3 separate regions of the Homo sapiens genome follow, and regions 2 and 3 are each linked to region 1. Evidence: promoter capture Hi-C in 16 types of primary human blood cells and fetal thymus (Javierre and others, 2016). All regions are on one chromosome and are shown on one strand. Each heading gives the region's core, a stretch centred on a gene start or on the middle of the fragment in contact. The rest is flanking DNA. Distances are from core to core; before and after follow the strand shown. Region 1 holds the start of BCL6B (BCL6B transcription repressor). Region 2 has its middle 23 kb from the start of TEKT1. Region 3 has its middle 4.1 kb from the start of TEKT1.

Evidence for each region. The method cuts DNA at HindIII sites, captures the fragments that hold promoters and counts their contacts. A CHiCAGO score of 5 or more calls a contact.
Region 2: a contact is called between a fragment that was not itself captured here and the fragment with the promoter of BCL6B in region 1, in 1 of 17 cell types (erythroblasts). The highest score is 5.1, in erythroblasts.
Region 3: a contact is called between a fragment that was not itself captured here and the fragment with the promoter of BCL6B in region 1, in 1 of 17 cell types (megakaryocytes). The highest score is 5.7, in megakaryocytes.

Annotation. Positions count from the first base shown.
Region 1 is chr17:7,021,314-7,024,317 of GRCh38, reverse strand. It overlaps BCL6B (BCL6B transcription repressor), which reads right to left and starts at 1,268. Exons shown (of 9, transcript NM_181844.4): 1 at 1,219-1,268; 2 at 468-658; 3 at 14-235. The coding sequence starts at 646. RefSeq lists a silencer at 2,175-2,314. The HindIII fragment of the contact is 4,378 bases long and covers 1-3,004 here.
Region 2 is chr17:6,853,606-6,856,615 of GRCh38, reverse strand. It overlaps the pseudogene ALOX12P2. Among named protein-coding and RNA genes, the nearest start is that of TEKT1, 23 kb to the right of the region's middle. RefSeq lists an enhancer at 1,639-2,838. The HindIII fragment of the contact is 549 bases long and covers 1,000-1,548 here.
Region 3 is chr17:6,834,410-6,837,337 of GRCh38, reverse strand. No RefSeq gene overlaps it. Among named protein-coding and RNA genes, the nearest start is that of TEKT1, 4.1 kb to the right of the region's middle. The HindIII fragment of the contact is 980 bases long and covers 888-1,867 here.

The DNA of each region.
Region 1 (3,004 bases), core at 19-2,518:
CAGGGTCCCTCACCTGGCCTGGATGAAGCGGTGGCATGCCTGGACCACGTGCTCCATCTGCAAATAGGTGGCGGCCGCTAGGACTGCTGGTGCAGTGGCTGGAGAGAGGCGCAGGCGCGAAGTGTACATGAAGTCCAATAGAGGGGCGAAGCCTCTCGCTTCGGGACCCCCGGGCAGAGAGAGCACGTCCACCCCGACTCCCGCACGGCCCCGGAAAATTGAATAGAAGAAGCCACTAGAGAGAGAGCAGATAAGTCCTTTGGGGGCTGGGGAACCAAGGGAGACATGCGCAGCTTCAGGAAGCCCCGCCCCCTGAAAAAGTCCCGCCTCCTCACTATCACCCCGCCCCCAATTCTGGGACGCTCCGCCTCCTGCTTCTGAAAGACTTGGCTTCGGATTCCCTCTCAACGGCCCTGTGGTCCCACCCCTTTCCCATTTGGCCCCGCCCCAGGCCCCACCCCTCGAACCTGCAGGCGATGAGAACTGCCTTGTGTGCTCTGAGGGGTTGCCCGCCAACCAGCAGCGTGACGTCAGTGAGGATCCCGCGCAGGCGCAGCTCGTTGAGGTTGCCCAGCACGTCGGAGGAGTGGCGAGTGAACTCGCGGACGTAGCCCAGCGCTCCCTCCGGGGCGGCGGGGGAACCCATAGCGACACAGGCCTGTAGAGGCCGTGGAAAGTGCTCTGGATCCAGGCAGTCCTAAGACGCCTTCCCTCCTCTGTTTGCCTTTTCCTTCCGAGGTGCAACTAGAGCCAGGACTTCCAGCCCCTAGCCCCGGCACACGCAGCCTCCCTCCTAATTCTTCTTGTTCATTCTGCCCTCTACGACACCCTCGCTCCCTTGCCTCTTCCAGATCCCACAGCGCTTGGAGCCAGTTGAAGGTTCCACACCGCGGCGTCGTTGGCGAGCGTGGGGAATCCCGCGCCCATCGCCCTGGGTTCGACCCCCAGTGCCCCTCCAGCACCGCCACTCCCCTCTGCGCGCCTGTGTCTCAGGTGTCCAACCCTGCCTCGAGATCTCACGGCCTGCCGTCCACACACCTCCAAATCCCAGCCGAGGCTCCCTTCCCCGAACTACGGAATTCTGCGACTCCTATCTAGTCCCCAATCCCTAGTTTAGCCCAATTTCTGGGACTCAGGCTCGCTGATGGCAAGCTCCACACAAGCTCCTACCCTCTTGGGGGACCCAGGAGTCTGGCTCCCTCAGTCTCTTGTTCTTACCCCCGTCCTGCAGGGGCCGCGGCTTCTCTTCTTAAGGGGGGCGGGGTCTCTCTCCCCTCTTGGCCTCGGCTCCTTTATCTGGCCGGGATGTCGGGGGCGGGGGTGGAGGTGGGGTGAACGCCTGGGTCTGTATCCTTCCTTCCTCCCTCGCTCTCCAGATGGCGAGTCCAGGGCGGGGTCTCCGTCTCGAGGGCGGGACCTCAGAAACAAGGGGTGGTCGTAACGTAGGGGGTCTTGGGTCACTGCAAGTGGACACGAGGACGGGGATATTGGAATTGGGGAGGAGGTTAGGGATATCGAGGTTGGCAATACGGGAGTCTGAGTCGTCGGAAGGCCTGGGCCAGTGAAAATTGGTGTGTTGGCTTTTGGGAGGGTTTGCCAGGAGCCAACCTTTGCTGCAGGACAAAGTGCATACGGCAACCCCCTCTCCCTCTCTTGTACTGTGTTAAGGGAGAAAAGGGGGAGCCCAACGAGACAGCAGGTTTGGGCAGACGACAGTGGGCTCCCGTAGGGTCTCAGACGGGGAGGGTGTGGTGTGAATGACAGGCTACTCTACCCGGGCCTACAAAAAGGGGGGCTCTGGCCGGGCGGGGTACGGAGAGGGCGGATATGATTTCTAGTTGGTTTCCTTCCATTGTCCTGCGACCGGACGGCTCCGCCAGCTGCTTCCCCTCGAGGAGGTGGGGAAAGCCCCGAGGTGGGGGTGGAGGGGCGAGAGACGCTCGGGAGACCTAGGCGTCCGGCCTCTCTCGCTCCCGACTCTCTTCTGGGTCCTTGTAGGGATCCAGAGAGATGGACTCCCGCCCAAAGCCCGCTTGCTTTCCCCCAATCCCAGCTCACGAGGGCCTCGGGCACCCGCCCGTCGGCTACGCTTGGAGGCTGGCGGGACGCCGGGGTCCAGCGCGGCAAGTAGGCAAGGCTCGGCAATGTGCGGCTCCTTCCACGAGGGGGCGGCCGAGCACTGGCCTCGCCTCGCCCCTCGTCTCCACCCGGCCTGGGGTGCGCTCAGACCCGGGCGCAGGATCCATTTGGTCTGGGCGGCTGAAACCTTTAGCCTCCTCCCCTTTGCGCGGGTTTATTTTGCACCTCTGTCTCCTAGGAGGGGACTAGGGCTGGGCGGAGGGAGCTAGAGTTAGGAGACCGAGGGGACTTTCCCCTCAGGCTGGGGTTCCTACCCGAGGTGAGAAATCGCGGGCTTTAGGAGCCAGGGGAATGGGTGGGACAAGAAGCGGGACCTGAGCCTGGGAACTCCGGGTTTTCTTTTCGAATTAAGCTAGACACTGCTACCCAGATGTCTTTGGAGGTGACTTTTAATTGAACATTAAAATTGGGTGGGGTAAACGAGAAGGGAAAACAAGGAGGAGGGAGAGAGGGCAGGAGGGGGCTTAACCACCCTAATTTGAAGTCCCTGATCTGAGAGATGGGCATGGATCACACCCTCATATTTTGTTTCGGGAGACATTGCGGGCAGGCAAGGCAAAGCTCATTTGGAGAAGGGGTGCTAGAGCTGAATCCAGCTGCAAGGCAGAAGCTCCCCGGATTTGGGCTGGGGAGAGTGTACAGTTGGCCAGGAATGGCCGACCATGGTCCACGGGGCTGGATATCAGGCCCGGGGCCCTCCCCTTCAGACCGGAGTGTGTCTTTATTTGAATGCATGAAAGAACAGCTGAGAAACCGGGAACTGGGAAATTCAGGACGATGAGGTGGCTTTGACATGTGAGGGTTATTTAGGTCTCTGCCCAGCTTGGAGATGAGAATTAGACTAGGGGCTCTCCCTTTGGCATCA
Region 2 (3,010 bases), core at 25-2,524, 170 kb after region 1:
TGTATGAAAAGCATCCTTAATTACACTTTATCTAAAACAATGAGACAACTCCTGGACTTTCTCAGACTGGTTGGCTATTGTAGAATGTGGATTCCTTGTCTGAACCCCTAGAACGAGAATTAACCTCTATAACAGTATTGGATCCTTTTAAAAACCTCCCTTTCCTCTTCCCCCAGCTTGGGACTCCCCAACTACTCCTTGCCCTTCTGCCTATTCATTCATGAGAGAGAACATACTTTAGATGTCCTGTCTCAGAAATACAAAAGGAGCCTGAGGCCCATTGGATATTTTACCTTCTTGCTAGGCCCTATAGCTCAAGCCTTCCTTCCTTGCTTCTGAGTTGTCATGGCAACAGCAAATTTGATTCAAGCCACAGTTGATTTTGTGCTAGGTCATACTTCGCACACTTCTGTGCCCAAGTGGTTCACATCTTTGTCCTGACTGCGAACCCCCAACGTTTTTCAACCTCTAACCTTACCTCTTATGAGATCCTTTTGTTTGCTCCTTCTCACATTACTATTCACCATTACCAAAATCTTAACCTTGTTACCATTTCTCTCCCAACTGAAGTACAACCACCATGACTGTATTTCAGCCACCTAAGCTCTAACCTTTCCCCGTCCTGATCTTTCTGAAGTACCTCTTATAGATCCAGATCTCATTTTCTTTGTTGATAGTTCATACCTCTGACTTCAGAAAGAGGTTTCCAGGCTGAATATGCCATTGCATATATCCACAGTCCCATAACATATGAGGCTTTACCCAGTGCAAATTATATCAGATAGAATAATTTGTGGCTCTCACAAGAACCTACACTTTAGCTAAGAATCAAAGAGTTAACATCAACACAGATAACAGATATGTTTTTAGGGTATTACATGACTTTGACCTGTTGTGGAAAGCCAGGGAATTTGTGACTACTAGTTTAAAATGGGAAATGTGGGTAACCTCCTAGAGGCCTTATTATTACAAGAGCTGGCCATACTCAAGATAGAAGCTTATATGGGCAATAGACCCCTAAGGCAAGGGGAAGCTCAGCTGATAAGTATGCTAAGTAGCAGTTTATAAATCTGTCCCAGTCCCACTGTAATCAGACCAGATATTAAACCTACTCAGTTTGCCAATTTATCCTCTATTTGAGGACATTAAAATATCTCAGTTAAAGGCCCCTGAAGATGAAAAGGCTAATTGAAAACAAGGTGGATGTTTTACCCACCAAAAAGTCCAAAGATAGGCTTTGAAGACACTGAGAAGGCTACTTGGGCTCTCCTTCGTCCCTGACCTGAAGTTCAGTCTTCACAAAATTTTTCATCATGGGAAAATACTGACTCAATGCCTTCATCATCATTTGTGGGGAAACTTCACTCCTTACTTGGAATATCTGCCAACAACAGAATCCTGGAAAAGTTATAAAGGTAGAACGAGGAAGAGAGCCACCTCTAGCAGGACTCTTTCTCTATTGGCAAAGATATTTTATTCAACTTCCTAAGTCAGTGTTATTAATATGCCCTGGCCATTGTTTTTATGTTCACTTATTGACTAGAAGCTTTTCCACGTAAGAAGCCCACAGCTGCAACTGTTTGTTCTCTTAGAACAAATTTTCCCCTCCTGAGGAATTCTACTTGCCCTGTCAAGTGACCAGGGAACTCATCGCACCAGTAAAGTCATCCAAAAAAATCCAAGAGTTCTTCCTCTGTCCCCCAAATTACATGATCCTCACCATATCCAGTCATGCAGAATGATTGAACAAGCAAACAGACAAAACTAAAATTTTCAAAACGTTCTGAGGTGAGGCCAGGTGTGGTGGCTCATTCCTGTAATCCCAGAACTTTGGGAGGCTAAGGCAGGAGGATTACTTGAGACCAGCCTGGACAACTTAGTGAGACCGCATCTCTAGAGTAAAAATACATATTTATATTTTTAAAACTTTCAGAGAACTCAACCTTCCATGGCCCAAGGTCTTTCCCTTGGTCCTAATTGCTCTCTAGCCTTTCCTTGTTAGACCACACCTGCCCCCTCAAAAAACAATTACTAGCAGAACTATGAGAATTCCCTACTCTATAAGGGCAACAGAAGACTCCAGTGAAGTTAATTCAGACATGATTTCAGAATTCAACCTTGAATGCATGTCTCACAACTTAAAAAGTACAGGAGTTACTTACAATAAAAATCTACTTCACCTGGAGATCTTAAACCGGGGCTCTCCAGGATTATGGCTGCCTCTGCTGAGTCATGCAGGTTGTCAGAGAAGCAGGGGAAAGCCGGCAGTCACAGGCCTCCCCCAGATCCCACGCACACCGAAGGGCTGGTCTCACTCCCACCGTGTCCCCTGCAACACCTCTGAGTCTGTTTCCAGACAGAGGACGGGCTTGAAAACTTGCCCGAGGCTTTCCGCCTCCCACCTGTGAAAGAAAAGGGCTTTAGTTCTTCCCCCACCTGTGAAGTCTGCAAGCCAGATCCGCATCCTCCCCCAAGTTCCGGCCAGGAGGCTTCTCGCCCCACTCAAATTGTTACAAAATTCAGCTAGGGAAGTCCTTCTCCCGGTAGGGTTTTACCTCCTGCTCCTCTGGCCTCCCTCCTGATGAATCCCAGTGGTGCCAGGCAGGAATAGGCTACCTGGGGATTCAAAGAGCTCCCAGGGCCTCCCTGCTGCCTCCTCTGCCCCTGTATTTCGCTTGGTCCGGTTCTCTAACTTGACTCAGCTCCAGGTGAAGTCGGGAGCATCTCCCGGAAGCAGACCTTCAGCTTCTCCAGTAGGGGGTGTGTGTTCCGGAAAGGAGGGTCTCCCTTTCCCACTTCCGCAGTTGGGGCACTCACAGTATTTGGGGTGTCCCCCGGGTCCTGCAGGAGCAGTCTGCTTCTTTCAGAGGGTCTGTGGGCCCTCTCTCAAAATATTTTTTTAAATATTAAAAGCAGCTGCTGATAGGGTTTGTCCCCACCAAATACCATGTTAAAATTTGATCTCCAGCGTTCAAGGTGAGGCCCGGTGGGAAGTGTTTGGGTAATGAGG
Region 3 (2,928 bases), core at 128-2,627, 190 kb after region 1:
GTACATACATGTGTATGGTTCAAAGTGTAAAAGACACAAAAGGGTATTCAGTGAAAAGTCTCCTTCTACCACTCTCCCTGGACACCTAGTTTGCTTCACAGTCAGCCAAGGTCACCAGTTTCTTGTGTATCCTTCCAGAAATATTTATGCATTTACAAGCAAATATGTATATATGTTTTCTTCCTCCCCTCTTATTTATAGAAATATTTTTGAGGACAAAATAGATAATATCAACCTTTCTGCTTCAGCTACTCAGGAGGCTGAGGCAGGAGGATCACATTGATTTTTTATTGTTTTTCACTGAAAATTATCCTTTAGAGGTCATTTCGTTTGGCTACAAAAGGTCCTTCCTCATTCTTTTGTAGCTTCATGGTTTCCAATGGTAAGGATGTGCCATAATTTGTTTAGCAAGACACCTACTGATGGGCATGTAAGTTGCTTCTAGTCTTTTCCTATTACCAGCGATGCTGAAATGAATAACATTGTGCATGCAGGTGTCATTTTAAAGCCATCTCACCATTTCTTTCTTGCTTACTTTTGATTATATTTGGTCTTGTTTTTGGAGTACTTGGTAAAACCCTGAATATGTTCAACATTTGGTTTGGTTGCCTACAAAGCAGCCAAGAGCAAGCCTTCTAAGCCTGAACGAGTAGATACATATTCCCTGAGTGTCTCCAAAGCAAAAACCTTAGACCCTGAAAACAAAATAGTTTCATAAAAGTTACTCCAGTAATTTTTTGAGATGAGGCACTGCTCATCATCCTCAAATTCAAATTGCCAAAGCAGTCAAGATCCTGTTGTGATTCAAGAGCCCAGACTTCCAGACGTAGGAGACAGCCTGGAAACAAGGCTTCTGCTCAGGACCTTGTTGGCTGGGTGAAGAAGCTTACAGGAGAGCCCGTGGAGGCAGATGGGGTGCTCAAAGGATCACCCACATGGCTGGTTTTTCTTTAAGGAGAACCATACAGCAAGTGATGAAGGGCAGGAAATGGCCACTTTGCTCAAACTCCTGGAGGCAAATAGGAACAAGACTTAAGAAAGGTCTAGTCAAGCCTCCAACGTTACACATTGAAAAGATCATTATGCACTACCTTGAAAAGGACTAACCTGTCTCTTAGGAGCGTGTGAGTCAATATAGTGCTCCGACAATGGGTATAGTGGTTAGCATTGCAGGCTCTAGGGTCAGGTAATTAAAATCCGCCCCCTCCTTTTTTTTAACCATTTAGTAGCTGTAAGTAACTTCTTTGTGCCTCCTGTCTTCTAAAAAATTGGGTCATTAATCATAGCTCTCCTAAAGGGCTGTGTGTAGATTAAATGGGATAATATCTCCCAAGCACAGTGCCTGGCACATAATACATGCTTGATAAATGGTGGTTGTGGTGATCATTCGAGAAACAGGAAGCATTTCACCACTTAATTCTATACAAGAAGCTACTTTAAAATATCGTGACGACTTCTAGAAATCAATACATGTTGCACATATTCTTGACTATCTTGTTTCTAGCCTCAGGATTTTGATTTATTTTGTACTGTGGTGTCAATTACAGAGAAAAGCCACCTTCTAGAAATGAGAAATGGGGACCCTGAATGGAGCCTTGCTTGTGAACTGTGCCGGGACATCCTGGTGTGTGCCATACAGTCCTGTAATTGATCAGTGTCTTATGAATCTTTCCCATTTTTTTATTCCTTGTTGATTTGCTGTGAACACCTGAAAGAAAGATGGTGGAGAACATCTCTTCATCCTTACTGGCAGTGAAAATCTGTTATTTCAAAGGGGAAGCACATGCTTTATATCCTTTTATTCCCCTAAGGGCCTCTTAAAAGCACATCACAGTTATTTGGTAGGTTAAAATTCCAATGAAAAGCTTTTAAGTTATCATGTTTGTTAATTGCTAATTTGGGGTTAGCGTCATACAACAGGGGACTAAGTCCCCGCTACAGACGCAGAACACTAGGGTCTTGAATGCCCAGCTTCGCACAATGGCCTGTGATATTGATACTTATTATAAGGAATAGCAAGAATAAAGGGCTAGTGGTTTCTTATCAATGAACTCACTGCTCCACAGTGAAACCTAAGATGGAAAACAATTCACATCTTACCAATACCATTATATGAAGGGAGTCTTTTCCCCCCAATCTAGGTGCAGTTCAGTGGGGAAGTTGACACAGATCCCAATACTACTGGCAATGCTACCAAAACAGAGGTCAAGGGTCACAGTGGCCACTGTATGACAGTTAAATAAGAAGTGAATAAGATCTGATGTTTGGGTAGCACTTTTGCATCCATAAAATACTCAGGATAGCATGACAGATTTATCGAGGATGGGAAACCTGAGGCTTGTCCGTGGTGAGATCCAGGCTGGAAGCCAGTCTTCAGGCCCCTGGCTAAGTGTGTCGTCTCCTAGACATACTGCCTCTGTTCATCTCCCTCTGAATTCTTCTGGTTTCAAAATAACTAGTTAGCTCTGTCTCAACGCTTTCACACCTCCTGCTCTTCTATCGGCTGCCGTATTTGTGTCATTCATTTACTGAAATCATTTATTATAAAGAGTTTCTGCATTTTTATATTCTTTTAAAAGAGATAATAATTGTACAACTCTCAAAAGGCAAAAGATTATTCAGTGAAGCCTCCTTTACCCTCCACACCCCAGCCATCCAGTTCTCTTTCCAGAGGCAACCAGTGTTACCAGTTTCTTATGTATCTGTCTGGAGAAATTCTAGGGGTACACAAACAATTACATTTTACCATTTTCTATCATAACAATGGTAAAATACTATATATGTAATTCTTCTGAACCTTGCTTTTTTCATTTAATATATCTCGTTGGTCACTCCATATCAAAGAGATGTAAAAAAGATTTCTAATTATATATTTTACAGTAAAAAATACTCTATGACTGTTTCATAATTTATTTAATCAGTCTCCTC